Regions from separate parts of the Homo sapiens genome. Here all the other regions are linked to region 5. Evidence: promoter capture Hi-C in 16 types of primary human blood cells and fetal thymus (Javierre and others, 2016). All regions are on one chromosome and are shown on one strand. The core of a region is centred on a gene start or on the middle of the fragment in contact, and the rest is flanking DNA. Distances in the headings are between cores, read along the strand shown. Region 1 overlaps OXCT1 (3-oxoacid CoA-transferase 1). Region 2 has its middle 13 kb from the start of RIMOC1. Region 3 overlaps FBXO4 (F-box protein 4). Region 4 overlaps LOC102723752 (a long non-coding RNA gene). Region 5 holds the start of CCDC152 (coiled-coil domain containing 152). Region 6 overlaps RIMOC1 (RAB7A interacting MON1-CCZ1 complex subunit 1).

What was found. Contacts are between HindIII fragments. The CHiCAGO score rates a contact against its expected background, and 5 or more counts as called.
Region 1: a fragment that was not itself captured here is called in contact with the fragment with the promoter of CCDC152 in region 5 in 1 of 17 cell types (naive B cells); the score reaches 5.1 in naive B cells.
Region 2: a fragment that was not itself captured here is called in contact with the fragment with the promoter of CCDC152 in region 5 in 4 of 17 cell types (M1 macrophages, monocytes, M2 macrophages and 1 more); the score reaches 9.2 in M1 macrophages.
Region 3: a fragment that was not itself captured here is called in contact with the fragment with the promoter of CCDC152 in region 5 in 3 of 17 cell types (M2 macrophages, monocytes and M1 macrophages); the score reaches 7.0 in M2 macrophages.
Region 4: a contact is called between a fragment that was not itself captured here and the fragment with the promoter of CCDC152 in region 5, in 4 of 17 cell types (monocytes, M2 macrophages, M1 macrophages and 1 more). The highest score is 7.8, in monocytes.
Region 6: a contact is called between a fragment that was not itself captured here and the fragment with the promoter of CCDC152 in region 5, in 2 of 17 cell types (M1 macrophages and monocytes). The highest score is 5.6, in M1 macrophages.

What each region holds. Positions count from the first base shown.
Region 1 is chr5:41,821,344-41,826,059 of GRCh38, reverse strand. The region is part of intron 7 of OXCT1 (3-oxoacid CoA-transferase 1); the gene reads left to right. Among named protein-coding and RNA genes, the nearest start is that of OXCT1-AS1, 46 kb to the left of the region's middle. RefSeq lists an enhancer at 3,587-4,088 and a silencer at 4,659-4,716. The HindIII fragment of the contact is 797 bases long and covers 1,145-1,941 here.
Region 2 is chr5:41,888,968-41,894,131 of GRCh38, reverse strand. No RefSeq gene overlaps it. Among named protein-coding and RNA genes, the nearest start is that of RIMOC1, 13 kb to the left of the region's middle. The HindIII fragment of the contact is 2,246 bases long and covers 619-2,864 here.
Region 3 is chr5:41,929,851-41,934,897 of GRCh38, reverse strand. FBXO4 (F-box protein 4) reads right to left here. Exons shown (of 7, transcript NM_012176.3): 3 at 4,981-5,047; 4 at 877-952; 5 at 590-765. Among named protein-coding and RNA genes, the nearest start is that of FBXO4, 7.1 kb to the right of the region's middle. The HindIII fragment of the contact is 4,396 bases long and covers 409-4,804 here.
Region 4 is chr5:41,872,068-41,877,243 of GRCh38, reverse strand. The region is part of intron 1 of LOC102723752 (a long non-coding RNA gene); the gene reads right to left. OXCT1-AS1 (OXCT1 antisense RNA 1) reads right to left here. Exons shown (of 3, transcript NR_046635.1): 3 at 5,003-5,176. Among named protein-coding and RNA genes, the nearest start is that of OXCT1, 4.2 kb to the right of the region's middle. The HindIII fragment of the contact is 2,742 bases long and covers 789-3,530 here.
Region 5 is chr5:42,754,241-42,759,105 of GRCh38, reverse strand. It overlaps CCDC152 (coiled-coil domain containing 152), which reads right to left and starts at 2,288. Exons shown (of 9, transcript NM_001134848.2): 1 at 2,221-2,288. RefSeq lists enhancers at 1,232-1,731, 1,732-2,233. The HindIII fragment of the contact is 10,296 bases long and covers 1-3,470 here.
Region 6 is chr5:41,912,478-41,917,665 of GRCh38, reverse strand. It overlaps RIMOC1 (RAB7A interacting MON1-CCZ1 complex subunit 1), which reads right to left. Exons shown (of 6, transcript NM_175921.6): 6 at 1-650. The coding sequence ends at 367. Among named protein-coding and RNA genes, the nearest start is that of FBXO4, 10 kb to the left of the region's middle. The HindIII fragment of the contact is 3,721 bases long and covers 1,724-5,188 here.

The DNA.
Region 1 (4,716 bases), core at 294-2,793, 930 kb after region 5:
TGAGTTGTACACCCTCAAATTGATGACCTCTCTCTGCCTTTGTATTTGAAATATGGAGCATTAGTTAATGACCCATTTTATCTCTTTTTATACTTTGGCTCAAAAGATTCACATATTTTGGTTTGGGATGAAGATTAAAGTTATTTCCTGCTTAAAACTTGCTTGTGCTGAATAACCACTGTGACTTTTTTATTCTTTAAGAAAGAAAAGTTTACTTAGCTCATGATTTTAGTGGGTACAAAGTCCAAGACTGGGTAGCTGTGTCTGGTGAGGGCCTCATGCTGCTTCCACTCATGGCCTAAATTGGAGGAGGAGTGGGTGTGCACAAAGAGATCATGTGATGAGAGAGGAGGCAAGAGCCATATGACTTCTTTTGAATGAAAGTCACATCTGTTGTTCTTTTGGGGACATAAATAAAGAGGGCCTCAGATACTGATGCTTTCTGTTCACCTGTGGGCATACAACTCCCTGAACACAGAGGGACTTAAGGTCCAAAATGTAAGTTATGTGGAAGGAAGTGTTTTCTTTTCTTCCTTATGATAGCTTTGCCTTATTGAATTTTTATAGAATTATGAAAATATCTTTTTGTTTTTGGATGGAATATTTTAAAACAGTTAACAGTTCCTAAGACTAGGAACCAAGAGTTACTTAACTGTTAGAATGTAATGGTCTTCTACTCTGTGGTTTATTCCATGAAGAAATCAAGTCCACTCATGTCTAAGACTAGAGTTTACCTTCTCTGGTTCAGCTTTTTCAAGTTTAATGATAATACACAGTGTTTCTGCCACTGAGTAACAAAGTCCACATTCAGATTCTTCAACCACTCATGTCCAAAAGTATAGGTCACCTTCTCTCTTATTCAGCCTTTGAAGTTTAATGATAATATACAGTGTTTCTGCCACTGAGAACATATTTGGGTTCTTCGAAGAGAATTCTAAATACAAATCCTACCTGAGGAAAGTTAAACTGGAATGTGAAGAACCCTGCTACCTTTTCTGTGCCTTCTGTGAAAAGGATCTGGGTGATTCATTTAAAGAATCTATTTTAGTTTCCTTAATAGTTGCAGAAAAGGATACAAGTTTTGCCATGTATTGTGAAAAAGTTCTGTTCAGTTTTGAATTTCACTTTAAATTTTGGAAAAGCTTTGCCGACACAGACAAAACTCAGAAGAAAATTTCATCGTTATTACCAAACTCAGGCGAATACAGGTTAACTATAAAAAGCTATGAGATTAAGAATGAGTTTGAAAGTTTTGGTGTAATTTAACTTTCTCTGAGGAATTTACAAAACTCATTCATCTTGAATTGTCTTCTTAGAATTGGAATTAGACCTTTAGAAATAAAAGTAGTATTAAGTAGAATCTGAAAGACATTTTTATAACTCAGCTTCTGCTATAAAAAGTATTTTAGCTGCTGTTTTATTTATAGTTTTTTGTTCAGTGCTCTTGGCATCTGAATATGTTTGCACTCAAAATGTTTTCACTTATTTTTCCTCTTTGGTTTATGTTTTTAATGTACAAGGTAATATTTTATATGTAAATTGAGGACTAGGTTTTATAAGGAGATAGGAAAATGGAATGGAAAACTTTCTTAATGAAATTCATTCCCAGGAAATAGGGGCAGTGAAATGGTCCAAGTAGACTCTATACAGCTAAGATGTGCTTTACACAGAGTGTGGTAGATGCTATACTTGAAATATTTTCAATAATGGTAATATAAGTTGAAGGAGATATATAGCCTAATAATTATGAAAACAACAATAGCAACAACTTCTGTTTATACCATGCACTTACATGTAAAGCACTTTATAGTAACCCAGTGAGGTAGGTTTTATTGTGTATATTTTATAGAAGAACAAATGAGGATAAGGAAAGACTTTAAGATAACAAAATTGGTAGGGGGAAGAGTTAAGATCTAAACATTTCTTTGTGCCTCTAAAGCTTATGTTCTGAAGCAAAAACAAATGACGGTTGGTATATTTTGAGGTGCATTTTACATTATGCTTTGCAATGTTAACATTTTTATCTAATTTACAGTCTCCTTACTTGCAGGCTCATAGACCTTTAGCTGACTGAATTTTTCAGTTAACTTAGTGTAGCCCCAGGATAATGTTAATACTTTCATAAATGCAAAATTAAGAATTGTTCAGTAATGTTAACCTTTTAGAAAATATGAAATAGGATAATCTCCTAAAAGCTGTAAAATGAGAACCTTCACATTTAGGAAGACAGAATGTTTTTTTCCCCCCAATTGAAAATGAGGTAGATAGTATTATATAGTTGTTTGAATTCAAGATAGAAACTTTAGGATTCTATATAGTAACTACTGGTAATGATTATTTAAAAAATAGCCACTTCCAATTTCAGGCCTAACGTGCCAGGAGGTTGGAAGTTGCCACACCCATTCTCACAATAAGAAAAAAGATGAATAAACTGAAAAATCAACAATTATTCTTAGATCCGTCAGAGGATTAAAGTCACAGGGCAAACCACTGCCACCCAAATTGGAGAGAGACAGGCTAATACGGAGAATCACAACTGACTGGAGCAGAAGCCTAGTAGCAGAAATCTCCATGGGAACCAGTCCTGGGGTAGAAAAGCTCAAACTGTAATTGATGAATTGTTGGAGGCTCATGTGGACAAGTTTGAGAGTTAGACTCCAGAGTGGTCTGGTCTTGGGAGGGGCTTCATATTTCTGTGAGTTTTATGTCTAGGATCCCTACCAGAGTTTTGGTGAAGACCAAAGGAAAATTTCCTTGTGCTTCTGGCAAGGGGAGGGGGGAAAAGTGGACATTTTGAAATATACCCAGAGCGTTCTCTTTTTAACAAGGCCTGCCTTCAAGTGAAATGAATGATAGTAATGTTATAAGAGACAAGTGCTGGGGATACCATGTTTTAAGATATTTGCACTACCTGTGAAGTGATATAGTGTTATTTGAAAGAGTACTTGGATTAATTGTAAATGTATATTGCAAACTCAAGTGTAACAAAAAAAGCAGAAAAAGAATTGTATGAAAAAGATTAATTAAAACTACAGAATGCAGAAAAGAGTGGAGAGCAAAAAGAATAAAGAACAAGGACAATGATGAGAATAGTAGCAAATATGGTAGATATTAATCCGACTAAATAATTTGAACATTACTGGTCCGAACAATTAAGACTCACAGTGGATTAAAAACAAGACTCAGCTGTATGTTGTCTATAAGAAATCCACTTTAATATACAGACACAAATTACAAGTAAAGAGATGAATGTAAAAAATTATTCTAACATTAATCAAAAGAAAGCTGGAGCAATTAGGCTGGGCACGGTGGCTCAGACCTGTAATCCCAGCACTTTGGGAGGCTAAGGCAGGTGGATTGGAGTTCAAGAGCAGCCTGATGAACATGGTGAAACGCCGTCTCTACTAAAAATACAAAAATTAGCCGGGCATGGTGGCACACGCCTGTAATTCTGGCTACTTGGGAGGCTGAGTCAGGGGAATCGCTTGAACCCGGGAGTTGGAGGTTGCAGTGAGCTGAGATCATTGAACTCCAGCCTGGGCAAAAGAGTGAAATGGTCTCAAAACACAACAAAGCAAAAAAAGTTGGAGCAGTTGTATTAATTTCAGACAAAGTAGACTTCAGAGCAAGGAAAATTATTAGGGATAAAGAGGGCTAGTCCATAATGATAAAGAGGTCAGTTCTCCACAAAAACAGAAAAATTCTTAGTGTTTATGGTGTGGCAGTTCTTATTTCTGGTCTCCTCCCACCCCCAAACCACTACCGCAGAACTAGCCTCATGAGCTTCAGAAGTACCAGTACTGGCTGCCTCCTGTCACTCCCAGTAGGGGTCTGAATCCCAGCTCTGAGAAACCCCTGGCCCCATCACCAGTTCCATTTACTTCTCTTTGTTCCTCCTGCAGTTACTAGATCCGTGTCACCTGCGTGCTTTTTTGCCTTTTTGGTTCTCAATTTCTTATTTAAATTCTATTAAAATAACTGACAAAACTAACTCAAGAAGGAGTAAAGAACTAAATGTAAGTGTAAAATAGAAAACTCATCGGAAATAAGAAAAAAGTGGCCATGCTTTTTTAGATAAAAACATGATCCCTGAGAGAAAAACACTTGATAGGTTGGACTTCGTTAAAATTAAAAACTACTACTCTGTGGAAGACACTGTACAGGGAAAAAAATGACAAACTCTGGTTTGGGAGAAGATATTTGAAACATGTATCTTATAAAAGACTGGTGTCAAACATATGCAAAAACAATTAAAACTCAACAACAAGAAAATCACCCTATCACAAAATAGGTAAAATCTGAACAGGCACCTTACCAGAGAAGATACACAAATGGCAAATAAGCATATGAGAAGATGCTCAACATCATATCATTAGGGAATTGCAAACCTAAATGAAATGCCATTACACACCTATTAGAATGGCTAAAAGTCAGAACACTAACAACCAAATGCTGACGAGGATGTAAAATCACAGGCACTCAATCATTGCTGGTGAGAATGCAAAATGCTACAGCTTCTTTCGCAGTTTGGTGTTTTCTTATACAAATAAACAAACTCTTACCAAATAATCCAGCAATTACACTCCTTGGAATTAAATCACTATGTTGGTTGGAATGCTTCCTGAAAGATTAATAAATTGCCTATTTTTGTTTCCATGTAGAATATGTGATAGACTTGTTCATGCTCTGATTCTGAGCCATTGTTGAATTTTATAT
Region 2 (5,164 bases), core at 492-2,991, 860 kb after region 5:
CGTCATTCTGCATCCCCACCAGCAGTCTATGAAGGTTCTAATTTCTCCACATCCTTGCCAACATTTGTTATTATGTCACTTTTTGATTAGTGGCCATTCTCACAAGCCATTCTTGTCCACATGAAGTGGTATCTCATTGGTTTTGATGTGAATTTCCCTGATGAATAATTATGTTGAATATCTTTGTATGTGCTCATTGGTCATTTACATATCTTCTTCGGAAAAATGTCCATTCAGATCTTTTGCCCACTTTAAATTAGGTTATTAATATTTTAATAACCAACTTATAATAGTTCTTTATATATTCTAGATACAAGTACCTTATGAGAGGTATGTTTTACAAATATTTTCTGACAATTACTGTCTGGGTAATTTAGTTCCAGCCTGAAGAACTCCCTTTATTATTTCTTATATAGCAAGTCTGACAACAGTAAACATTTTCAGTTTTGTTTCTTGGGGAAGGTCTGTCTTTATTTTGCTTTCATTTTTGAAAGACAGCTTTGTTGGGTGTAGGATTCATGATTGACCTTGTTTTTTGAATACTTTGAATATGTTATACCACTATCTTATGTTTTCCACTATTTCTGCTGACAAGTAAGCTCTTAATATCACTAAGCTTCCCTTGTAAGTGACAAGTCATTTTTCTCTTGATATTTTGCAGATTGTCTCTTGATCTTTGACTTTCATTATTTTTATCACGATGTGTCTTTGTGTGGATTTCTTTACACTATTCCTGCTTAGAGTTATTGAGCTTCCTGGTTGTCCAGATTGCCTTTCAATAAATAAATTTCTTCAGTGTTCAACCTTTTCTTTCTTTTGTTTTCTTTTCTTTTCCTTTTCTCTCTCTCTCTCTCTTTCACCTCCCTTCCCTTCCCTTCCTCCTTCCCCTCCCTTCCCCTCCCCTTCATTTCCTTTCCTTTCCTTTTTTTTTTTTTTTTGAGACATTTTCACTCTGTCCTCCAGGCTGGAGTACAATGGGTGTGATCTTGGCTCACTGCAATCTCAGCCTCCCAGGCTCAAGCGACTCTCGTGCCTCAGCCTCCCAAGTAGCTGGAATTACAGGCGTATGCCACCATGCACAATTAGTTTTTGTATTTTTAGTAGAGATTGGGTTTCACCAGGTTGGCCAGGCTGGTCTTGAACTCCTGGCCTCAAGTGATCTGCCCACCTTGGGCTCCCAACATGCTGGGATTACAGGTGTGAGCCACCACGCCCAGCTTCAGCCCTTGTTTCTTTGAATATTTTTTGCTCCTTTTTCTCTCTCTTCTCTTTCTAGTACCTCCACTATACATACGTCATTGCCCTATGTTTTTCACATTTCTCTGTGGCTCTGTTCATTCTTCCTGGTTTATTTTTCTTTCTATTTTTTGGATTGTAGAATCTATTGATATATGCTTGAGTTTGTAAATTCTTTCTTCTATCAGTTGAAATCTACTGTTGAGCCCCTGTATGAATTTTTCATGTAAATTATACTTTATTGAAAATTCCATTATTTTCATTGGGTTCTCTTTTATTATTTCTATTTCTGTTTTTATTTCCCTAGAGGCAAGGTCTTGCTCTGTCACCCATGCTAGAAAGCAGTGGTGAGATCATAGCACACTGCAGCCTCAACCTCCCTGGCTCAAGTGATCCTCCTCCCTCAGCCTCCTGAGTAGCTGGGACTACAGATGCATGCCACCATGTCTGGCTAATTTTTAAAATTTTTGTAGAGATAGGGTCTCACTTTGTTGCCCAGGCTGGTTTTGAACAACTGGGCTCAAGCAATCCTCCTGCCTTGGCATCTCCAAGTGCTGGGAGATTATAGTCATGGGCCACTGCACTTGGCCTGTTTCTATTTATTTGTAACCTCTGTTTGATGTGACATGGTCATCTCATGTTACTTTTTAAATCATGATTTCCTTTAGTTGTTTGAACATATTTATAATAGCTACTATTGAAATCTCACATCTGGTTACTCTCACAGGCAGTTTTGTTGCCTGATTTTTTTTTCCTGCTATAAGCATCATAATTTTCTGTGTCTTTGCATGTCTCATAATTTTTTTGTTGAAAACTCAACATTTTAGGTAATAAACTGTAGCAACTCTGAGTGCTGTTCTCACCCCCTGCCCATACTTTGTTATTGCTATTTGCTTAGTGACCAGCAGCATTGTTTTAACAGAATTTATATCCATCCCCACAACCCCCAAGCCCCAGTGTGAAGCCTCTGATGCCCATCAGGGCCCAGCCTTTGTGATACTTTCAGAGTCACTTTTAGATGACAGTTGCTGTGGTTAGGTCACTTTTTGATTATGTCTTTCCCTGACCACATCTTAACTATCAAGCACTAGTAACTTCTAGTTAGTGTTCTGTTGTTTCCAGCAATGCCTTGAGGGCATAAATAGCTCCACAGACCAAATCAATCTAAAGGGGCTCCTTTGAAGGAATAGTTCCTGTCGTCAGTTATTGAGATTTATTCTGACCCCTTGTGATCTCCCCACAGCTGCCTCTTCCTCTGGTTCTCTCCAACAAACTAGCAGACCTACAGTTTACCTTATATCTCCAATGAAACTACTAATCACCTTCCAGTTGCCTTTTGCTTTGTTGACAGAGAAGGTCAAACTCTGAAAAATATTTGATGAGGTTTATTCTGAGTCATAACACTACCTCTGGTCCTGAGAACATGTGCCCAAGGTGACTGAGTTACAGTTTGATTTTATACATTTTAGGGAGACAGAAGTTACAGGCAAAGACATAAACTAATATATGTAAAGAATACATTGGTTCAGCCCATAAAGGCAGGACATCTCCAAGGGATGGGGGTGGCTTCCAGGTGATAGGTGGATTTGAAGGTTTCTTGATTGACAATTGGTTGAAAGAGTTAAGCTTTGCCTATAGAGTTGAAGTCAGCAGAAAGAAATGCTTGTGGTTAAGATAAAGGAGGTTATAGAAGCCAAGGTTCTTGTTATGTAGATAAAGCTTCCGGGTACTGGGCTTCAGAGGGAATAGATGGTAAATGTCTCTAATTGGGCCTTAAAAGTTTTCAGACTCCTTGTTAAATCACTTGTAGATCAGGAAAATACCTGGAAAGGGAAGGGAATTTTCTATAGAATGTATGTTTTCCCCACATGAGGCAGACTTGCAGGACTATTCCAAAATATGTTAAAGAAACGTATTTTGGGGCTAGGTGTGGTGGCATGCCTGTAATCCCAGCACTTTGGGAGGCTGAGGTGGGCAGATCACTTGAGGTCAGGAGTTTGAGACCAGCCTGACCAACATGGTGAAACCCCATCTCTACTAAAAATACAAAAATTAGCCATTCGTGGTGGTATGGGCCTGTAATTCCAGCTACTTGGGAAGCTGAGGCATGAGAATTGCTTGAACCTGGGAGGGAGAGGTTAGAGTGAGCCAAGATCGTGCCACTGCACTCCAGCCTGGTTGGCAGAGCAAAAGAAAAAGAAAAAAACAAAAAAAGAAATACATTTTGGAGTAAAATACTTTTATTTCTTTTAGGGCCTCTTATCTATCATATGATGTTATACCACAATCAGGTTTGAGTTGGTAACACATTGCTACAAAGAGTCTGCTCTGTCAGTCTTAGGATCTCTATTTTTAATGCTAACGCTGTTCAGTTGTGTCTAAACTCCCAAAGGGAGAGGGTATAATGAAGCATGTCTGACTCCCTCTCTTGCCATCTTGGCCTCAACTATTAATAGTTTTTCATGTTTCCTTGGAATCCCCTTAGTTGGAAGGGAGGTCCATTAAGTTAGTTGTGGGACTTAAAATTTTATTTTTGGTTTACAGCTTTTATCATCAATGAACCTGAAATGGAGCAAAGACCCTTTTTAGGGGCCTTCCACGCCCCCATAAGCATGGTAATAAAGGAAAATCTTGAGTTCCTTCAAGGAAAATTCCAAGGACCTAGCTAGCCTTGAGTAGTAAATGAGCAACTTGATAAACAAGAAGGTAGCTTAAAACAACAGTGAAGGAAATTAGAGTCACAAAATGTTTGCTTCCCTATAGAAACTAAAGATAACACCTTAACATATGTTCCTGAATTGTTTTTCAGAAACCTAGACCTCCACAAAATGGAAAATGCTATCTGTTGGCATACAGACTTCAGATAAGTGAGAACTGAAGACTGAACTTAGAGCACTGTTCTTTGTTCTAAACTTCTTCTTGCGGATCCTGGACAGTCATGCCCAAAGTCCAGAGCATAATATTCCTTTCTGCTGACCTCAAGTTTTTAGACAAACCTTCGCTTCTTTAACCAATCACAAATCCGAGAATCTTTAAATCTCCCAATAACGTGTGACCCCTTGCTGCAAGATGCCCCACCTCTTTAGACCAAATAGATGTATAGCCTCCATGTATTGAGTTATGGCTTTGCCTGTAACTCTGCCTCCTTGCCTTTAAAACCCCTGCATGTAGGCCACTGAGGAATTCTGGTCTTAAGCATCCTACCTGATTCTCCGTGCTTGGAGTCCTGAAATAAATGCCTCACTTTCTCTGGCTGCAAATGCCAATGTCAGTGTTTGGTTTTGCTCTGCCAGATTTTTACAGATTTTCTGGAATAAACATTTCTTATTTGCTACATGTCTTTTAGGCCATTTTCAGAAACTCTATACAGTTGAGTCTTTCAAAAAATAATTTTAACCCATTTCCCTAGGGAGTGGGTCCATGAGATCCTCATACTGTTGTGCACAAGTCTCTCCTCTGGTTGTTGATTTTTATGCAGAGACTGAACCTTAATATTCCACATTCTAAAAAAGTTTATTTTGATGGATTATAATTTAAGTGTGGTAAACTATGGCCTGCTGACAAAATCCAGCCAAACTGTTTTTGTAAATAAAATTTTCTAAGAACACAACCTTGCATAATTTGTAACATATAATTTATGGTTATTTTTGTCCTACAAAGGCAGAGTTGAATACTTGAGACAGAGACTGTATGGCACATAATAGTACAAATATTTGCTATCTGGTCCTTTGCAGAAAAATCTTGTTGACCTCTGGATTAGATGATAATATCCAGCAGGGTAATAGACGGAGGGTATCTTGTTTCTTTATACCTCAATGATTTGATGGGTACACGCATTTACTTATAAGTGATCTGGCAAGAAAGAATGTTTGTCTTCCCAAACTTTAGTTTAGAGGATGTAAAGCTAAGCATGACCTAAACTATTAGA
Region 3 (5,047 bases), core at 1,357-3,856, 820 kb after region 5:
AAAGATATTATAATACTAGCTCATGGCCCAATGATATTTTGATTTCACACAAAAATAGCATTCTGAATGGCAATTATTCAGAATATATGAATAGTGTTCTCAACTAATCTACTTAACACCCTACCATCACATCTCTTTACTATTTGGATAAAACAAAGATAAAATTTTTCATAGTTATTTGCATAGATTATTTGAATAAAGCCAGAAGCAGACAAAATGTCAGTATCAAAAAAATGCAGAAGCATAAAGCAAAAAAATATTGTATAGCTCTAGTACCAAACTTTGGAATGCATCAGAATTCCCTGGGTGCTTGGAAAAAACAGATGCCCAAATCTGATTCACACAACCCAAATCTAGGAATAAAATCCACCAGGGTAGGAATCAGCTTGTTAACATGTTTAACAAGCTTCCCAGGTGATCCTAATACACACAAAAGTGTGAGAACACACTATTAATAGTAAGGGTCAGAAAATCACATTGATAAAATAAGCCATCATATTCTTAAGAAGCCACAGTAAAGTCTAAAAAGGTATTTTCCATTTGCTTTGAAAAGAACAATGTGCTTAAAAATGTACATATGAGTACTTACTTTTATGAGCTTCAGCATTTGCAACATAGATGAACCCATCTACAACTTCACACACTTTTTGAATCTGTGGAATCACACTGTACCGGCTTCCTTGTTGATCATCACCTTCATTGTGTCGACTGAACATCTTGTTAACTGCACTTGTATGCTCTTCCCTTGCTCTATCTCTTTCCTTTCTAGAAAAAAAATTGTAAAGACAGAATATAAAAAGACACTAAACAGGCTCCACTCACCTGAAATGTTTTAGTTCTGATGTTTCAGTTAAGCCACCAAGTATGTAGCCTTACCTGGTAGTTGAATATAAGATTAGAATGTTGAATTTATGTTGGTTGTTCAACTGAAAATTGACTCCTGATCCAATACCTAAGAAAGAAAATCACAGTTACCAAAACAAATCATTAATAAAAATAGCAAAAGATCACACTGAAAATTACCCGGTGAAAGCAAAAAGAGTAAAGAAAAAATTCTATAACAACTTATACATAGAGTTGAAATAAAATGTATACGTTGAAGAAAAGATACCGTATGTAACTTTCATTCACATGACAATAAAAATACAGAGAAAGAAAAAAACTGCAAGGCTTATAACAGTCCTTATATCATCATCACTATCATCAACAACTTTATCATCTTATCAGTAGCAGCTGCATAATCACAGCTACTACTATTTATCCTCAAGACTAAGACTCATTTTCATATTTTTATGTTTCTCATTAGTCTAATAATCAATGTATACATTCAATTAAGTGTCTTTCTCCCCCTCTGAAAAGCTGTTTTTAAATTGATGGGGGGGGCAGGCACAGTGGCTCACATCTGTAATCCCAACAATTTGGGAGGCTGAGGTGGAAGAATCACTTGAGGCTAAGAGTTCAAGACCAACCTAGACAACATAGTGAGAACCTCATCTCTACAAAAAATACAAAACAATTATCCAGGCATGGTGGCCCATGCCTGTTTCCCAGGTACTTGGGAGGCTGAGGTAGGAGGATCACTTGAGCCAGGGAGTTCAAAGCTGCAGTGAGCCATGATCATGCCACTGTACTCCAGCCTGGGTAACAGAGACCTTGTCTCAAAAAATAATAATAAATTACTGAGGAGTTGCCAAGAGAACATTAGTAAATTGAGAAAATACTGAAGATACTGAAATTTAGAATTCGTCAGAGTTGGATTATAATTCTGAATTTCTCACTTATAGCCATGTATTTGTATCCCTCAGTTTGACACCAAAAAGAAGTTGAACTAATATATTCTTCTTAGGTTTACTGGGAAGATTAAACGAGATCATACATGTAAAACTCCTAGTAGGGTGACTAGTAAACCACAAGTGCTAAATATTAGCTTCTTACTGCTTTGTATCTGAATCATTAGCCACTGTTATTTGTCCTTCTTTCTTAACCTCTTCCCTCCTTGGACTGTGTTAACACTAAGTGGCTGGTTCTCCTTTTGCCTCCTCAAAAGACCCTTCTGGGCTTCCATGGCTCTACTTCATCCTGTTATATAAATGTTCTTCTAGATCTGTTCAGTTCTCTGTATCCCCATGACCACACTTTAGTTCACATTGTCATCATCACTCACCCGGGCCTCTGCAATCACTTCTAACCAGTCTCCTATATCTTCTTGCCTCCTATTATCCTTTCCTCTGACATCAGTTGGAAGAATTTTTTAATAATGGTATCTAATTGTCTTCTCTACAAAGCCATTGCCCTTCAGATGAAGAAATAAAACCATAATATCTGGTCCCTACTAACCTCATTAGAGACAACTCCAGCCTTTCATACTCTTAATTCCTGCATTATAACTAATTTATTTGTTTAAATAAGCTATGCCATACCATCTCATGTCATCATTCTAGGCAACACACACACAGGGCTCTTAAGTACTAAGACTGCAACCATGCCAGGCCATGTGATCCTAGTCCTCCAGCCACCAGGTCTGGTGCATGTTTCACAGAGACCACAGAATCAAACTTTACCATGTTTCTGATCTTTGTTTTCATCAGCTGCACTCCCAGAGATTACCCTCTCAACACGTCTAACTTCAGCCCAATATAGTCGCCATACTGTTCTGCCCTTCTTTGCCAATTATGTAACCCCATATTCTCTCGTCTTGCTGAGTGTGAGCCATAAATTGAAATTTTAAAACAATCACTTCAGCTGCTCTCTGGAAAATGGAATTGACATTTTATAACCATCAAACTTCCCCATTTCCTCAACCTCTTCTTGAGGTGTTCCTTTGACCTAATAGCCACACTTGAAATTGGCCTACCCCTAGGTGAGGCTTCTCCTGCAGTGAACTCTCAAGTAGCAAAGATGCTTATTTTCTCAAAACTCAAGGTAAAGAGGTGGGATTCATGTTCTCTTAACTCCCAATGCCATATCTAAACAATTACTCACCAACCCTCTGAAAAAAATCCTTCTACTTGAGAAACACATCATTCAGCTGTAGCACTCTTTCCTTCTTTGTCGTTATTACTTATGAATCTCCATTTAATAGTCACTTCCCCCAAACATAAACTGAACATTTCAGCACCTGTCTCCAATCTTCCTCTCCATCCTCAAAAACTTCCAAGTCCATGTGGACTCCGTATGACTCCCAAATCTCGATTTTCTAGCCCAGATCTTGCTCTTGAGAGCTGGATGCATACAGTAATCCATCAAGTCATTCACTCATTCACCAAATATACAGAGAGTGCCTGTTATGTGCCTGGCACCACAGATATAGCTAAAAATAAAGTGGACAAGACTCTTACCTTCATGGAGCTTCCATTCTAGCAGATTTGCTTATAGTAGGTATCTCTACTTGGATCTTCCATGGAGTTATCAAAGTCAACATATTCCAAAGAATAGCTGCCATTCTCCCTATACAGATCTTACTGTTACCTGCCCCTTCCAAATTTTTCTTAACTTCTCCAGTGATTTATTACCCTAGTGAATCCTCTATCATCCAACAAAAAACTCAAGTCAGAAACCTGGAGCCATCCTTATTACTGCTAATACATTTATTCTGTCAATTTTATATCCTTACTATTCATTCTCTTCTCTCATCTTCACTAACAGTGACTTAGAGTTCAGATCCTCTTCATATTTTAATCATAACATTACAGTGGCTTCTTAATGGGTCTCCATATCTTTAGCCCCTTCTAATCAATTCTTCACTCAAGAGCCTGAGTAATCTTTCTAACATGCAACCTTGATCATCTCAATCCTCTACTTAAAATCCTCCAGCAGCTCCCAAATGCTTAAGCATGGTACATATGTGTCTTTTCACATAGCTCCACTCTTTCTAGATACACAGTGATACTTCAAATGTGTCCTCTACATCCAGAGCTTTGTGCTTTTAGAAATGTAGTTCTCCGCCGGGCGCGGTGGCTCACGCCTGTAATCCCAGCACTTTGGGAGACCCAGGTGGGCGGATCACGAGGTCATGAGATCGAGACCATCCTGGCTAACACAGTGAAACCCCGTCTCTACTAAAAATACCAAAAAAATTAGCCAGGCGTAGTGGTGGGCGCCTGTAGTCCCAGCTACTCGGGAGAATGGTGTGAACCCGGGAGGCGGAGCTGGCAGTGAGCCGAGATCGCGCCACTGCACTCCAGCCTGGGCAACTGAGTGAGACTCCATCTCAAAAAAAAAAAAAAAGAAAGAAAGAAAGAAAGAAAAAAATGTAGTTCTCGCTGCCTGGAACACCTTTACTGTCTTTTTGTGATGGCCTACAACTATTCACCCTAGTGACTCATATGAGACATCATCAATATGGAGCCTTCTTTGACCGTTACCTTTCTACCCAGGAACTAAATACATCATATTCTAGTTATCTGTACACTTGTCTATGTCCTCACCTACACCTATCTTGAAGGCAAACAGAGACATTGTTCTAAATCTGCATCCCTATCATCTCACTTATAGGGGCTGGCTCTCAATAAATAAGTAAAGCAAAGGCTAAATTTTATTATTACTTACATTTACTATTTATCCTGCCTTGCCAAATATTTATGCATTTTTTTTAATAGAAAGAGGGGAAGGTGATGATTTAAATCTTTTGAATTCCAATACATATCAAAATACTCTCCACACAGATGCTCAATTTTTTCTGCTTTTTCAAACATGATAAATATGATATCCCACTGTACAAATGCAACATCTTGACAACAAATAATTTATTTTCACATAATCTTAAAGGCTGGATTGTACAAATTTGAGGAATTAAGAGGAAGCTTTCTTATAGTAAGTAAATTAATTCTGTCAGTTCAGTGGAACCTGGTAGGGCTCCCAACAACCAAAGTACTGTACTTCATTATAGCAAATAATTAATTTAAAATGAATTTCTTTCTTTTTAACAAGAATGTCAAGCTCAAAGTGTTTGAATTAACTGTAGATTAACATGAAAATTACCATCAATCTGCCTCTGAGGCAAACCAGCTGTTGGGCAAAGTTCCTCTGAAGACATCAAGCTCAACAC
Region 4 (5,176 bases), core at 910-3,409, 880 kb after region 5:
CAATGAAAATGTAAATAATTACTACTATCACATCATGATTAGAAAGAAAGTATTCAATTTAAAGAGCTGAGCTGAGAGACACAGGTTAAGTTCATGGCTTGTATTAAGGCAGCAAAAAAGGGTTACCCAAGTCAAGTCAACACAACTGATATTTGTTGAACTGCTCTATGCTTAAAAGAAATCCTAGGACACTATAGATACAAAAATGAACAAAACTTAATAAGCTCATAATCCAGGTGACCAAGGGCCCTGAGAGCACAAAGTAAAAGAATATAGTTTTTTAAGAGGTGGAATTCGGAGTGTGAACAGTCAAGGTACACAGAGGAGTGACATTTGATCTGAGTCTTGAAAGAGGAGTAGGAGTTTGCTCAGCTGGCACAGAAAAAAAGGCTTTAGCAAAGGCTCCCTGTCAGAAGGTGCTTGGTATGTGCAGGGAGCAGAAAGTAGTCGAATTTAGCTAAAGCCATAATTTTCAAACATATTTAATATGAGTCACCCTTTCAAATAAAATTGTATTTAGAACCCAACATATACAATGTGTAAAAGTGGTACTTTACAGTTTAAATGCATTTTATCATTTTAATTGTGAAATATTTTCCTGTTATACATGGAAAAAATGAGAATAATGAAGCTCTTCGGAGAAGCTAAATATTGCAGCCATGGAGTTATATCTGATATTTTGCTTATTTTATTTCTGTTTGGCTGCACAATAATAAGAAAGTTCTGATTCACACTGCAGCTTGTCCCAGAATTTCAGTATATGCTTCAATTAAAGTAGATCAGAAGCTTGAAAGAAAAGTAGCAGGAAATGTTTGCTTCAGTGGTCAATAACTAATAATGTCAATTACCTCTTGTTCACATATGTAAATGTCAGACAAGATGTAGCCAAAATGGAAAATAATCTCTAAAACTATTTATAGTACAATATTATCATGAAGTGTTTTATATGCTCTTTTTGAACAACTACAATGCTGTGATAAGAAATAATTCTAGGCAGTACATGTCTCTGACCAGAGCCTCAAAGTATTATATACTTATATAAATTTAAGTGAGTCAAAATGCAGAGGTCTAAATGATAAAAAGATAAATACAGAGCTACAAACATCTTTATCAATGACATATTTTATATATTCAAATATAGGAAATTTGATGATGAGGAACCTTTAATCTAAGGTTTGTCTCCCAACTGCACAATCTGGTCTGTTTTTTTTTTTTTGTTTTTTGTTTTTTTTTTTGAGATGGAATCTCGCTCTGTCACCCAGGCTGGAGTACATGGTGCAATCTCAGCTCGCTGCAACCTTCATCTCCCAGGTTCAAGTGATTCTCCTGCCTCAGACTCCAGAGTAGCTTGGAGTACATGTGCCATATGCCAGGCTAATTTTTTATTTTTAGTAGAGATGGGGTTTCACCATGTTGGCCAGGCTGGTCTGGAACTCCTAACCTCAGGTGATCTGCCCACCTTTGCTTCCCAATGTGCTGGGATTACAGGTGTGAGCCACCATGCCCAGCCACAATCTGGTAATTTTTAATACTTTTAAATCAAAGATAGATCACAATTGAGTGTGCATGCTCCTTTTGTTAGTGTTGATAGAATAGTAAAAATGTAATCTAAAATTTAATTTCAAAATATAATGTTTGCATAGCCCCTGAAGTACCTCTGCAGAGCCCTTAAGGCCACATGATTTGTTGAGGCTAGATTAAACAAAATCTTGCCTATAATTGAATGTTGGACTTCACTTGCAGCCTTTGAGCATTTCTTGAAATATTTTAGAAAAAGATGTGAGAAGACCAGATCCTGTATTTGAAATAATAATTTTAAGTATGTTTAAATTGAGGGAGAATGGAAATTCATTTGGAAGGAAACTGAAATAATTCAGATGAGAGAAACTGAAACTGAGGCCCTGAAGTAGTGCAGAATGAGTGAAACTGGAGAGTTGGGGTAAGATTCAAAGATATCTCAGAAAGAGGGAGGTATAAAGAAATAGCAGCTTTTAATAACATATGGTCCAGGGTTTGAATCTTGCCTTATTTTTTTCAGTTTATTAAGTAAATTTTTCAGTTTACTTTATGTTTTCAGTAACCAAAGCACCTGCTGTGGTTTGAATGTGTCCTCCCCAAATTCATATGTTGACACTTAATTGCCAGTGTGATAGTATTAAGATATGGGGCTTTTCAGAGTGATTAAATCATGAGAGCTCATGAATGTGACTAGTGCCCTTATAGAAGAGGTACAAGGGAACTGTTTATGTCTTCTGCCCCTTCCATTATGTGAGGACACAGAGAAGGTATAATCTATGAGGAACAGGCTCTCATCAGACCCTTGTTAAAAGAAAAACTTTAGACAAATTAACTTTAGCAGAGTTTATTTGAGCAAAGAACAATTCATGAATCAGGCAGCACTCTGAACCAGTAGAGGTTCAGAAAGCCCCACTCAGCAATGTGAGCAGGCAGTATTTATAGGCAGAAAGAGGAATTGAGGTACAGAAACAGCTTGATTGATTATGGCCCAGCATTTGCCTTATTTGGGCACAATGCAATGTGGCATTTGCCTTATGTGGACATGGTCTTATTAGTTGGTAGTATGTGATTGGATGAAACCTGGCTGCTGTAATTAGCTGAGACTCAGCTATCTGTTACAAGAACATACTCTTAAGTAAGGTTTATTTAAACACTAACTTAGGTGCAGTTTGCTATGCAGAATTCCAAAGTATGGAAGCAGCTTTTGGCCAAATTTAATTTAATTTAACATATTCAATATGCTGGTGCCTTGATCTTGGACTTTCCAGCCTCCAGAACTGTGAGAAATACATTTCTTCTTGTAACTTACCCAGCCTAAGATATTTTGTTGTAGCAGCAAGAATGGACTAAGATAGCATCTGGGAAATAATTAATAATGTATAATCTTTTAACACCTGAATAATGCAAATATTGATCTAGAGATTACCTTACATCTTGACATTCTGTAAGCCCTGCTTAACTACTGCACCACAGAAGGCCGTATAGCTAGAGACTGCAGAGCTGAGACTTGAACCCTAGAAGCCTAACCACAGAATTCCTGCTCTTTATTATTTTGCTGTCAACACTTGATTCTGAGGTTGTGCAAATTCACTGTGTAAAAATCAAGAGGCACATATAGTTTGAAATATAAAGCAGACGTGTGGGGGAAAGGAAGACCAGAAGAGATGATCCTCTTCTATGTCATGTTATTAAGTATGAACTTTGGATCTCAAAGGCAGTGGGGAAAACCAATGACAGGTTTTAAGCAGAAATAAAGTGATCAGTCTTGAATGTATACAAGATCACTCTGGTGCATTTTACTCTTTTAGGTTTCCTTAGTATCTTATCATAATTTTCAATTTCATTCCAGGCCTTAAGCCCTCTCCAAGTATCTCATGCATTTATTTTACTTTTTTTCTGAGAAAACTACACTTTATAAAAATCAATCTATTTTTTCTTTAATCATTGAACAAATATTAAATACACACTAGTTAATACAAGGGACTCCTTTAAAGGATCTATGAAAATAAGCTTGCAAAATATGCAAATTAATGGGTGTCTTGCACTATAAAACAATACTTAGATTTACAGATTTATGTGAAATTTCAGATTTATGTCCTTCAAACCTACTAGAAGCAAATTGTTTGAAGGACTATGTTCTCCATATATTAAAGGACTATTGTGATAAAATGAAGCACGCATGCACTTTTATAAGTGACTCAAATGACCTACTTAAAAACTGCTATTTCTAGTGAAACCAGTTAATCAACATTTGAAAAACAAGTCTTCAGATGCCCCTGGTTATCATCCTGGGGAGTACACCATCAACTGTGAGAATAGGATGTCATATCTTGCACTAATGAGATATGCTAATGCATCATATTTTAGGAGAATTAAAATGAAACTCCTTAAAACAGAGAATAATTTACAATCTAATAAACTCTGACACATTACCTGCATGTATCTGATAAAATGGTGCCACACAGTCATGCCTTGCTTAATGACAAAGACAGGTTCTGAGAAATGAGATGCTAGGCTATTTTGTCATTGTGCTAATACAGAATATACTGACATAAACCTGGATGGTCTAACCTACTACACACCTAGGCTATATGGTATGGCTTATGCTCCTAGGCTACAAACTTGTACAGCATGTTACTGTACAATATTTAGTAGGCAATTGTAACATAATGGTAGTTATTTGTGTATTTAAATTTTTCTGTTCTTTCTTTTATTTTGAGACAGAGTCTTGCTCTGGCATGCAGAGGAGCAATCTCGGCTCACTGCAACCTCTGCCTCCCAGGCTCAAGCAATCCTCCTTACTCAGTCCCCACTGCCCACCCCACCCCAGTAGCTGGCTACAGGTGTGCTCCACCACACCAGCTAATTTTTTTGTTTGTCTGTTTTTGTAGAGACGGGGTTTCACCATGTTGCCTAGGCTGGTCTCGAACTCCTGGGCTCAAGCGATCCACTTGCCTTGGCCACCCAAAGTGCTGGGATTGCAGGCGTGGGCCACTGCACATGGCTAAACATTTCTAAACATAAAAAAGCTACAGTAAAATATGTTATTATAATCTTATGGGACCACCATCATATATGCTGTCCATTATTGACCAAAATGTTATGTAGCACATGACTTGGTGTATGTACACCCACACCCACACATACACATACGTATCATAACATAATACAAAAAAACAAAAAAAAATACAAAAAAACAAACAAAAAAATCTTTCCTCATTGCATGACTGGAATCAGACCTTTTGTTTAAAGGCTTTGAATCCAATTCTCCCAGTTTTTAAAAGTGTGGAAGTTAAACTGTAAGATTCCACAAAGAAAGGTTTCCAGAATATAACATATTTGCCAGAAACTGCCTTTCAAAGCAAGTGGGAAATATCCTTACTAGTTCGGAAAAGTTCAGATATTTAAAAGAAGTAAAATTTTGCACACCAATTAAAATTGAAGTGCCTTTGTGTAACTAGAAGTGAAATCAGCACATAAGAACTTTTTTTGTAATTTGTAATCTAATTTATTCAAGTTGAAGAGACTTGCACATTATTTAAAAAGTATAAAATGAAGTCACAGTCATCAAAAATACAGTACAGTGTGTTTTGACCATACAGTAATTAGGGTGATTTTCTCAGGAGACTTAGTCACATAGCATGCAACATTTAAAATG
Region 5 (4,865 bases), core at 1,039-3,538:
CAGTAGATAGTGTTAAATAAATAAATAAGATCTAAAGCACCACAATAGTGTTCATAGCTCAAATACTAACATTTCTATATTCAACTCATAGGGCACCTACTTGGGCTCCATTGCACTGCGAGAATTTTTGTTATAACCAATATTAACAGTGGTCAAATGCATTGTCTTTTCCACTCCTTACCACCCACACCCCAGTTGACTTATTTATATTTGTTTCTTTACTGCATTAAAACCTAATGCAATATTAAATCTGAGGCATGACTTTTAACTGTAATTATTCTTAATTAAAGATGTTAAAAATACTTGTTTAACTATCATGTCACAGATGTTTTCTGCTGTTATGCTTATTTCTTATATTTTGTTTGGTAAACTGGTAAATAAAAGATGCATGGAAGTTAATGTGCTCAAAGCAATCTCTCTGCATTTCTATTGTCTTGTAATTTTGTATAAGGGATTAACCTTTGGGGATAGCCAGCTAACTGCTGAAGAATAAGAGTTTCAGTTTTAGTCCTATGAAATCAATCATAAGAACTTCTTCAGAATCCCAGAATGTAAATGCTGGCTATTTTGCAAAAGTCAATTTATCCATTCTGACTGGATGAGTTTACATCTTCAGATGTAATGTAAACAAGTATGAGACACTTGTCTTTAGATTTTTCTATAGCAAAGAAGAAAGGGAAAATACAAGTTTGAAATTCAGGGATGTTAGGTTGAGGAAAAAACATGAACCAATGTATGGTGTGTGAAAGCGGTAACTAGTCCAAAGTAAAATGTAAGTAAAATTCCTGATGTAGTTACTCAAAGCAATTTGGGGGCATATTATTGTTTAAAAGGAAGTTAACCAAAACAGATATTGCTTGACAATATGTTATTTCATCAAGATATCTCATTTTCTTCTTTTGAAATATTTTGCATTAGCAATTATTAATGGTTTTTAAATCTCAGATTTTTGGCTGTATATTTTGTTTCTTGAATTATTATCTCGAATTATTATCTTATGTATGACATATGCAAGCACAACTACATATAAAATCCCTTAAATAGTTAAAACTTGATCCTTACAGCAGAAAAATATTTGTTAATAGCCTCCCATGATACAGTAAAATTCCTTTTGGAGTAAAATTAAAAATAATTGCTGTTTGATAGTACTGTTATTCTTTAATAGTGCTACATAGTAATCTGAAGTAGTTAATGGAAACTCCCTCCACCCCCACCTTTTTTTTTTGGTACCTAACCTTTTAAATAAAAAAGGTTTTACTAGGGTTTTGTCTCAGAATCTGGCTCTTGAAATAAATGCATTTAAATTTGAGCTTGATTTTCTCTCAACTCCTTCCCCCAAAGAAGACCCTGTTATTTCCTTGTAAAACCATCACTAATATTCCATTTGCTATCGTTGCATGATATCCCTTTTGCCATAATGGCAGAGCCAGGCAATTCATTTCTAGGTATCTTCATTGCCTGCTCTTCTGATTTCTTAGGTCAAGATCCTTTCAGTGAATATGGTCTTGCCCTGTGAAATTCGGTGTCAAGCTGGTGATTCAGTGCTTGTCAAATTCCTTAGTGAGCCGCAGAGACTGATTTGTGACCTTCAAGGCTCAGCTTCAACCGTCCCCACAGGCAAGTGAAAGTCCCATTTCCTTCTTTGTCTTCTTGCCTGCTGGCTTCAACCATCCCCACAGGAGCGTGACAGTTCCGTTTCCTTTTGGGTCCTCCTGTCTGCTGGCTTGAGTCCCGGGGCTCGTCCTCTCCCCTACCCCACACAGTTGGTCCTTCGCCGCTCGCCTGCCCCACGCTCTGGTCCCTCCTCTTTCCTCCTCACCTCCCCTCAAGAATTCACTCTCAGTCCTGAAGCCTGGGTCCCCTGGCTCCCTCTCCGTCATCCTAGTGTCCTTAGGGACCTAGCAGAAATAAAGGATGGGGGCCGAGGACCCGCGGATGTGAGAGAAGTGCCTGAGACAAAAACCTGTATGGACCCAGAGCACTGTAAGGAGATAAGAAGAAAAGCATCTCTATGGAAAAAGCGGGAGTTTCGAATCGCTTTCTAGCGTCCTTAGCGGCCTAGCAAAAATAAAGGATGGGGGCCGAGGACCCGCGGATGTGAGAGAGGTGTCTGAAAAGAAAAGCCTGTAATGGACCCAGAGCACTGTAATGAAATATGAAGAAAGGAATCTCTATGGAGAAAGCGGGAATTTCGAACCGTCAATAGAATTTGGAGTGTACCTGCTGTTGCTCCTAGTTCCCCACAGTCTCCCTTTCCGCTGCCTCTGGGGCCTGGTACACCCCTGAATGCTGTCCCCTCCTCCGGAAGCCGAATCCCCCAACAATGGGCCCGCCTTTCTCTGGGCCCGCCCTGTGCGCTATGCTGGAGCTCCTACCACCAGCAGTTCTTACCAACTTGGCCCAGCTCCGCTCAGCATCTGCGGCTGCTTAGGTATTTTCATGTGGTTTCCAGAACATGAATCAACACCGGATCAATAATTGTTTCCCCAACCAAAGAATAAATCACATTGGGTGTTCTGAATTGTGAGTCAGCTCCATTGAATAAATAATTATCCATATCTATTTTTGTAACTTATAAAATTGCCTTTTAAAATTCCAGAGCCAGTTAATAGATATGGTTTCCCATCTACAGAGTTATATCTTGGTAGCTTAATGATTAAGGGCGTGGGCTCTTGCGTGGATTCAAACCCCAACTCTTCTCTTTTTCCGTGGGTGATAGTGGGTAAGTTCTTAATTTCATGCACCTAAGCATCTTCATCTGTATAAGAGATTAATTATAATGCCTGCCTCTGCCGGGCGCTGTGGCTCACGCCTGTAATCCCAGCACTTTGGGAGGCCGAGGGGGGTGGATCACCTGAGGTCAGGAGTTGGAGACCAGCCTGGCCAACATGGTGAAACCCCGTCTCTACTAAAAATACAAAAATTAGCCAGGCGTGGTGGCGGGCTCCTGTAATCTTACCTACTTGGGAGGCTGAGGCAGGAGAATTGCTGGAACCCGGGAGGCGGAGGTTGCAGTGAGCGGAGATCGCACCATTGCATTCCAGCCGAGACCCGCAGCAGCAAGACTCAGTCAAAAAAAAAAAAAAGAAGCCTGCCTCTTAGGACGGTTGTGATGATTAAATGAAGTGATGCATTTATAAGGTGCTTAATGGAGATCCTTGCTTAAAGTAAGTGTTCAGAAATGTTAATTATTAGAATTTTTGAATGTTGTTCAGTAATAGTTTGAAAGCGAATCCACTGCCAACTTTGCTCATCTGCTTTTTTTTTTTTTTCTGAGTGGGAGATGGGAGGTTTATTTTTGTTAATGTGATTTTTCGATAGACTCCAAAATTTGGCAAGTGAAAAAATATAAACAGTAATATGATAACCCATACTTTACTAGTTGAAAGGTAGTGTGGCATAATGGCAAGAAAATTAGGTTAAAGTGGAAAATGGGGGTTGTAGTCTTCACTCTGCTGCTCAAATAAGCTTTCCCTAACATTAGTAGCAACACATAGAAATATTGAAAATGACCTGCTGAATTGCGGGTTCTACCCAATTAGCAAATATAAAATGTTCCATGTAACTCATGTCATAATAACTTTTGAAACAAGCCCATTTTAAGACCCTAAATGCTAAAATGCTACCTTCTCCATGAGTCATTCACTGATCGTATCAATCAGTTGTGATCTACCTTTCCTTACTCTATGGAACATGCTAGCTTTCTGTGGCATTTGTTAAGACTGAATTGATGTATTACCTCTTTTGCTGTATTTATTATTGGCTCCTTGGGGGAAGAAACTCTATTTTCTTTATATATATATATATATATATATATATACACACACACACACACACACACACGCGCATGTATGTATGTATGTATGTATGTATGTATTAAGTTCCACCTAGGCCCATCCTAGGCAAATTTCAGGAGTCCTTTGAAAATATGTGGTGACTGGAATGTGTAAGGTGGAGAGGGAGCTCCCTAGATCCCCTGCCTCATCTGTACTTCCAAATCTTCTGGATGTTCCAACATTTGAAATACAGAAGCTTTGACTATCTAATGATTTTGGGATGTAGAGACTAAGAAAGTTGGAATATTATATATATATATATGTATATATGCAAACACACATATATGTATATATATATACACATATATATGTATATGTATATATTTCTCCATAGAGCCTACCATAGAGAAAATAGAAATGAACCAACACATCAGGAATAAGTCAGAAAAGTTTAGCTTAATTTTTCTAGTTTAGAATGGGTTGCAAGTTTATCTTCCAGTTTATAGATGTTAGCATTTTTTTCAAAGAATTCTAGTAGGTTTAGAGTGCATCTTTCAATGAGAAACTAAATGAACTTGTCATGATTTCATCTTTAAAAAGTGAATGTGTTTCACAGTTGTATTCACAGTCTTATTCTTCAGATACCATCCAACTGAGAAACAGAATTCATCAAATATTTGCTCAGAAAATATTCATTTTTGCTTACTACTTGGATGTGGGATCATTCATACACCACATGTCAGCAACATGCAATTTACTCATGTAGCAAACTTGCACATGTACCCCCCAAGCCCAAAATAAAAGTTGGGAAAAAAGAGAATATTTATTTTCTGATAGATCAAGGATTTATTTAATATATATTTTAAGACTGCCTGGAAAACCAAAATAGAGAAACAAACTACATTATTTTGTCATACTAACAAAGAAAGTAACACTGGAATTCATTAAAAATACCCTGATTTGGAAGAGAAATGCATATGTACCTGGGCAGCTGAAAAAAAATCAGAAGCTACCGGTTTATGTACATAAAGATCTTAAAATGAGTGATACATTGATTTTTTTAGGTTGAAAACAGCTTCACTCATTAAT
Region 6 (5,188 bases), core at 2,335-4,834, 840 kb after region 5:
TAAAAATAATCTAAAGATGATAAAAATGGTAAACTTGTGTTACATATACCACAATAAAAAAAAAAAGTAATAGAAAAAATCTTTGTAAAGCTAAATTGGGTTACTACTCATTATTAGTGACATAACATCTGTATTTTAAGGTGAGTTTGAACAACACTTTAGAAATTAAAGAATCATCCCTTCATAGGTTTACTAATATATAATGAAAAAGATGGTGATGTTGTTTTAGTAGGGTACCCAAGCTGGATATCTTTATGCAGTGTAATGTTCTCATATTCAGTATCAACAGGTCTTCTTTTTTGGAACTCTCTTTTCCATTTCATGGGTTTTGTTGTTTTTCTATTTGAAAAGGACTAGATGAACTTACTAGTTACAGCGATGATGAAAGAAGTTTAAAATTTGTTTTGCATTCGTTGTATTCCATTCTTGTTCTTTCAGGGGTCCTTCACACACAGATACATACTTTTTCAAGATTTTTTCTCCTACTTCTCGGAAATCCAAGGGTTCCTTGTATGTAGTGCAGCCCGCTCCAGACACACTAGTATCCACTTCATGATTTTCTGGTTGCTGATCAGCACAATACTTCGATCCCCAGTAACACATTTCTCCACTGTACATCATAGCCAGCAGATGAATGTCACTAAATATTCCTGGGAAAGTCATTTAGGTTGACAGATTAGAATTAAAAGCTTAAAAAGAAACCGTAGTTATTAACTAAACTCTAATTAAAGTTCCTTTTGTCATTAAGCATTTTCTATTCTCACTTTAACAGTAACACAAAAGCCAAATATGACTAACACAATCTTCATTTAATTAGCATTTTTTAATATCGATTTTACTGATAAAGGAGGCCCATTACAAAAAGAAAAACAGAGTACCAGAGAATTTTTTTAGAGAACCATTTAGGTGTTTTTGACCTTTTTGGGGTCCACTCTATAACTTCTTTGAGAATCTAATTTAAGGAATAGAACTTCTCCCAGAATATACACCCCAAATTCTGCAGTCAATTTCAGAGTACTTATAAACTCCCTGAATTACATCCATGGACACACCCTTTATTTTGGGGTATGCTCTAGGATAATTCATATAGCTAAAGTCAAGTATCCTAGACCTCTTATATTCTCTAAAAGTCTAAGAAATTATCATGCATAATCATGCCTGAGAGTCCATACAATTTTAAATTATTAAAGGTGTTATTTCCAAGATGCTTTGTATTACCAGAAAAAAAGAGAGTATGCTGCAGAATTTTCATCAAAAGTTGAACTCTTTCTTCTTATGGGTAGTTTTTCCAGTAGGCAATTATATAATTAAATATTTATGGTGCATAAAGTATATTAATTTGGCAGAAAGACAAATAAACCTAGAATAAAAAAGATCTGGGTATAAATTACTGGCTTTGTGTCTTTGGGCAAGTCACCAAAGCTCTTTGAATCTCAGGTTTTAAATCTGAAAAATAAGGAGTTTGCATCCCCTACTTAATTCCTGAATTTTCCTAAAGAACATAAAAGAAATAAAAATGTAACTTCTTAAAGCCATTGAAGAAAAAATAAATGATGGATTCTAATGTGCTTCTGTGATTAGAAAAGATTACTTCAAATAAATGAGCATCACAATGTCTGTTGTTCACCTAATATGATTCAACAAAAGTGACTATGATGGCACTGGATATGAAAAATTCAACTTTCAAAATAGTGGTAGTTTCTGTTTGAATCTATTGCAAGCTTTTTAAAGTATCAAAATTTGTTCCTACAGTTTTCACCTTCACTTCACCTCAATTTCTGCTTATAAAGAGTAGCAAGAGAAACAACAGGCTCAGCAGAATAGCTGAATGAATGGTGATATGGTTTGGCTCTGTGTCCCCATCCAAATCTCATCTTGAATTGTACCCTCATAATTCCCATGTGTTGTGGGAGGGACCCAGTGGGAGATAACTGAATCATGGAGGCGGTTTCCCCCATACTGTTCTTGTGGTAATGAATAAGTCTCAAGAGATCTAATAGTTTTATAAGGGGTTTCCGCTTTCACTTCTCTCTCCTTCTCTCTTGCCACCGCCATGTAAGAAGTGCCTTCTGCCTTCTGCCATGATTATGAGGCCTCCCAGCAACGAGGAACTGTGAGTCCATTAAACCTATTTTTTCTTCCCAGTCTTGGGTATGTCTTTATTGGCAGCATGAAAACGGACTAATACAAATGGCTATATGATAAATAGTGGTTCTCAAACTTTTGCCTTCAGAACTTATTCCTTCTTTCTAACTGTATGTTTGTACCCATTAACCCAACCTCTCTTCATCACACTCCTCCCACTCATACAACCTTTTGTGATACCAGCTCTGATTTGTAGGGGTGGGAGGCTCCTCAGTGGTATTAAGGGCATAAACAAAGGGTGTAAAAGTTGGACAGTTTTTTATTTACCTCCATGTGATTCCAGGTTTATTCTGACAATGCAATTTTTATAACCCTTTTATCTGATAAGGCCATGTCCAAAGATTAAAATTCTCTGGCCCCATTTCACAGAAGAATGAGACTCAGAGGTGAGATACAAGGGCTTACTGCATAAAATTTAATGATATACAGATAATGTCTAAACAACAATATGATTATCTTACCTTAGAAAAAGTAACAAAAACCATACACAGTTTTGAGTTTTATCTAAAATTAGGTAAATTATCACCAAGATCTAGCCACAGAAAATTTGATGTCTCATATAGAACTTTTCTCCCTAAATGCTAAGAATTACTCAGAATTGTATTTTATATGGACTAACAAAAAATAATTTGAGCCTCTCAAATTAGGACTTAGGAGTAATTCAGCCTATGAAAAGTAGGTTTCCTGGCTTCTAATCTAATCGTGTTCAGATAGATACATTTGGGCAAAGCAGCCTTTTTTTCTTTTTTCTCAGACAGGGTCTCACTCTGTTACCCAGGCTAGAGTGCAGCTGTGCGATCAGGGCTCACTGCAGCCTCAAACTCCTGGGCTCAACTGATTCTCCAACCTCAGCCTGCCATGTAGCTGGAACTACAGTCATGCACCACCACGCCTGGCTAATTTTTTTTTTTTTTTTTAGTTTTTGCAGAGATGATGTCTCACTATGTCTTGAACTCCTGGCGCCAGTTTTCTCAAGTGATCATCCTGCCTTGGCCTCCTAAAGGAGGCAAACTTATGTTTGTTTTGTTTTGTTTTGTTTTGTTTTGTTTTGTTTTGTTTTGTTTGAGACAGAGTCTGGCTCTATCCCCCAGGCTGGAATGCAGTGGTGAGATCTTGGTTCACTGCAACCTCCGCCTCCTAGGTTCAAGCGCAAACTTCTTTAGATGAGAACAAAAGGCCGACACCCTAAGAGGACTTAGGACAGTATGTAGCAAACTGCTATGGTGCCTATACTGTGTCTTTTTGCCTGGAAAATGCTACCCTATCTGACCCTTTTAATTCCCTTGTTGAAGAACCAACTGAAACTAGGAGCTAGTAAATTCAAAGTATGACAAAGAGACGCCACCAATATTACATGCTTCCTGAAGAAAAAACTCCAGGTTATGAGAATGTCTTACTTTATAACTGGAAATGGGAGAATTAGGAAAACAGGTGATTTGTGCCACTCCCTTTGGTTCTAAATGAGCTGTAGTGCCTACCCCCACCTTTTTCTTTTAAAGTGTCCCACATTAAGAATTCAATTTAATCAGTCCATGTGTATAAATAGAAATTTTTTAAAAGCCATTTTCAATGCCTCTGATTGGTTCCTAGTTATCTGAAATAACTAATAACTAGTATATACTTGCCATAATTACATCAAATATCCTATGTTTGTCAAAATGTCATGCCCACTGAGGGAGCTTTTTGTATTCACAATAAGTTGTTTTAGAATAAAATATTTGTCTAAATGAGCAGAAAGTAATAATTTTTGGCCATCAGGTCACTTAAATCACTATTTTTTTTCTATGAAATGCTTTCAAATAGAACAATCCAGGAGAGGCTAACAAAGAAACAGGAAGAATTAAAACATATTTAATATACTAGAATATTTCCAAAGAGGTACTCTAATTATTCTTCACATTTCATTTTTTTCCCATCAAAACTTCAGATGAAGTATAAAAAGGTTTACACATGTGATCTAATGTTACTTGCAGCTATATGACCTTGAACAATTCACTTGCATTTACCTGGATCTCAGTTCTTCCATTTATAAGGAGATGGTAAAAGTAAGTGGTTCTTCTCTCCTCACACACAAGTCTAAAACCCAGATGATGCTCTATATTCAGTTCCTAGAATTTTCAAGTACACAGACGCTTGTGGCAGAAATTTATAGTTGCCAACCAGTATTCATTCTCCCCAATACCCCCTTCTTAGTAAAGAATCTTAATTTTATTTGGGATGGCAATGTATCAGGTTAAGGACTATACTTCCCAGGTTTCCTTATAGCTAAGTAAAGTAATCTGATTAAATTCTGGCCAGTGAAATGGAGGTTGTAAGAAACTTCTGAGAATGATGGTCTAAAGGAACAGACTTGGCTGAAATTCCCTTTTGCCATTCCTGTAGCCTGAAACACAGGTGAGATTGAAGGAGCTCCAGGAACATCTTGGGATACTGAGAATAAAAGCAATGTCCTAAACAGAGATGCATGCTGCACAGTCTGGAAAGTATCATTTATATTATGTTCTATATAAAGTGCCTCCCCATGAAGAGGGGGTCTGGTTTTAAAGAAGAATGGAGGAAAAAGGTAAGAACATGATGAGATGGAGCCACTGTACCAGCTCTGGACCTTTACTGTGCGAAAGATCACTAAATGTCTACCTTGTTGAAAAGTTACTTCCATTCGGTTACAAGTAGCCAAATCTAGTACTGATAATATGCTGACAGAGGCTTGATATGTTTGGCTCTGTGTCCCCACCCAAATCTCATCTTGAATCATAATCCCCAGGTGTTGAGGGAGGAAGCTGGTGGGAGGTGACGGGATCATGTGGGTGGTTTCCCTCATTCTGTTCTCGTGATAGTGAGTGAATTCTCATGAGATCTGATGGTTTTATAAATGATAGTTTTTCTTGCACTCACACATGCTCTGTCTCACCTGCTGCCATTTAAGACATGCCTGCTTCCCCTTCCACCATGATTGTAAGTTTCCTGACACCTTCCCAGCCATGTGGAACTGAGAGTCAATTAAACCTCTCTTGTTTATAAATTACCCAGTCTCAGGTAGTAT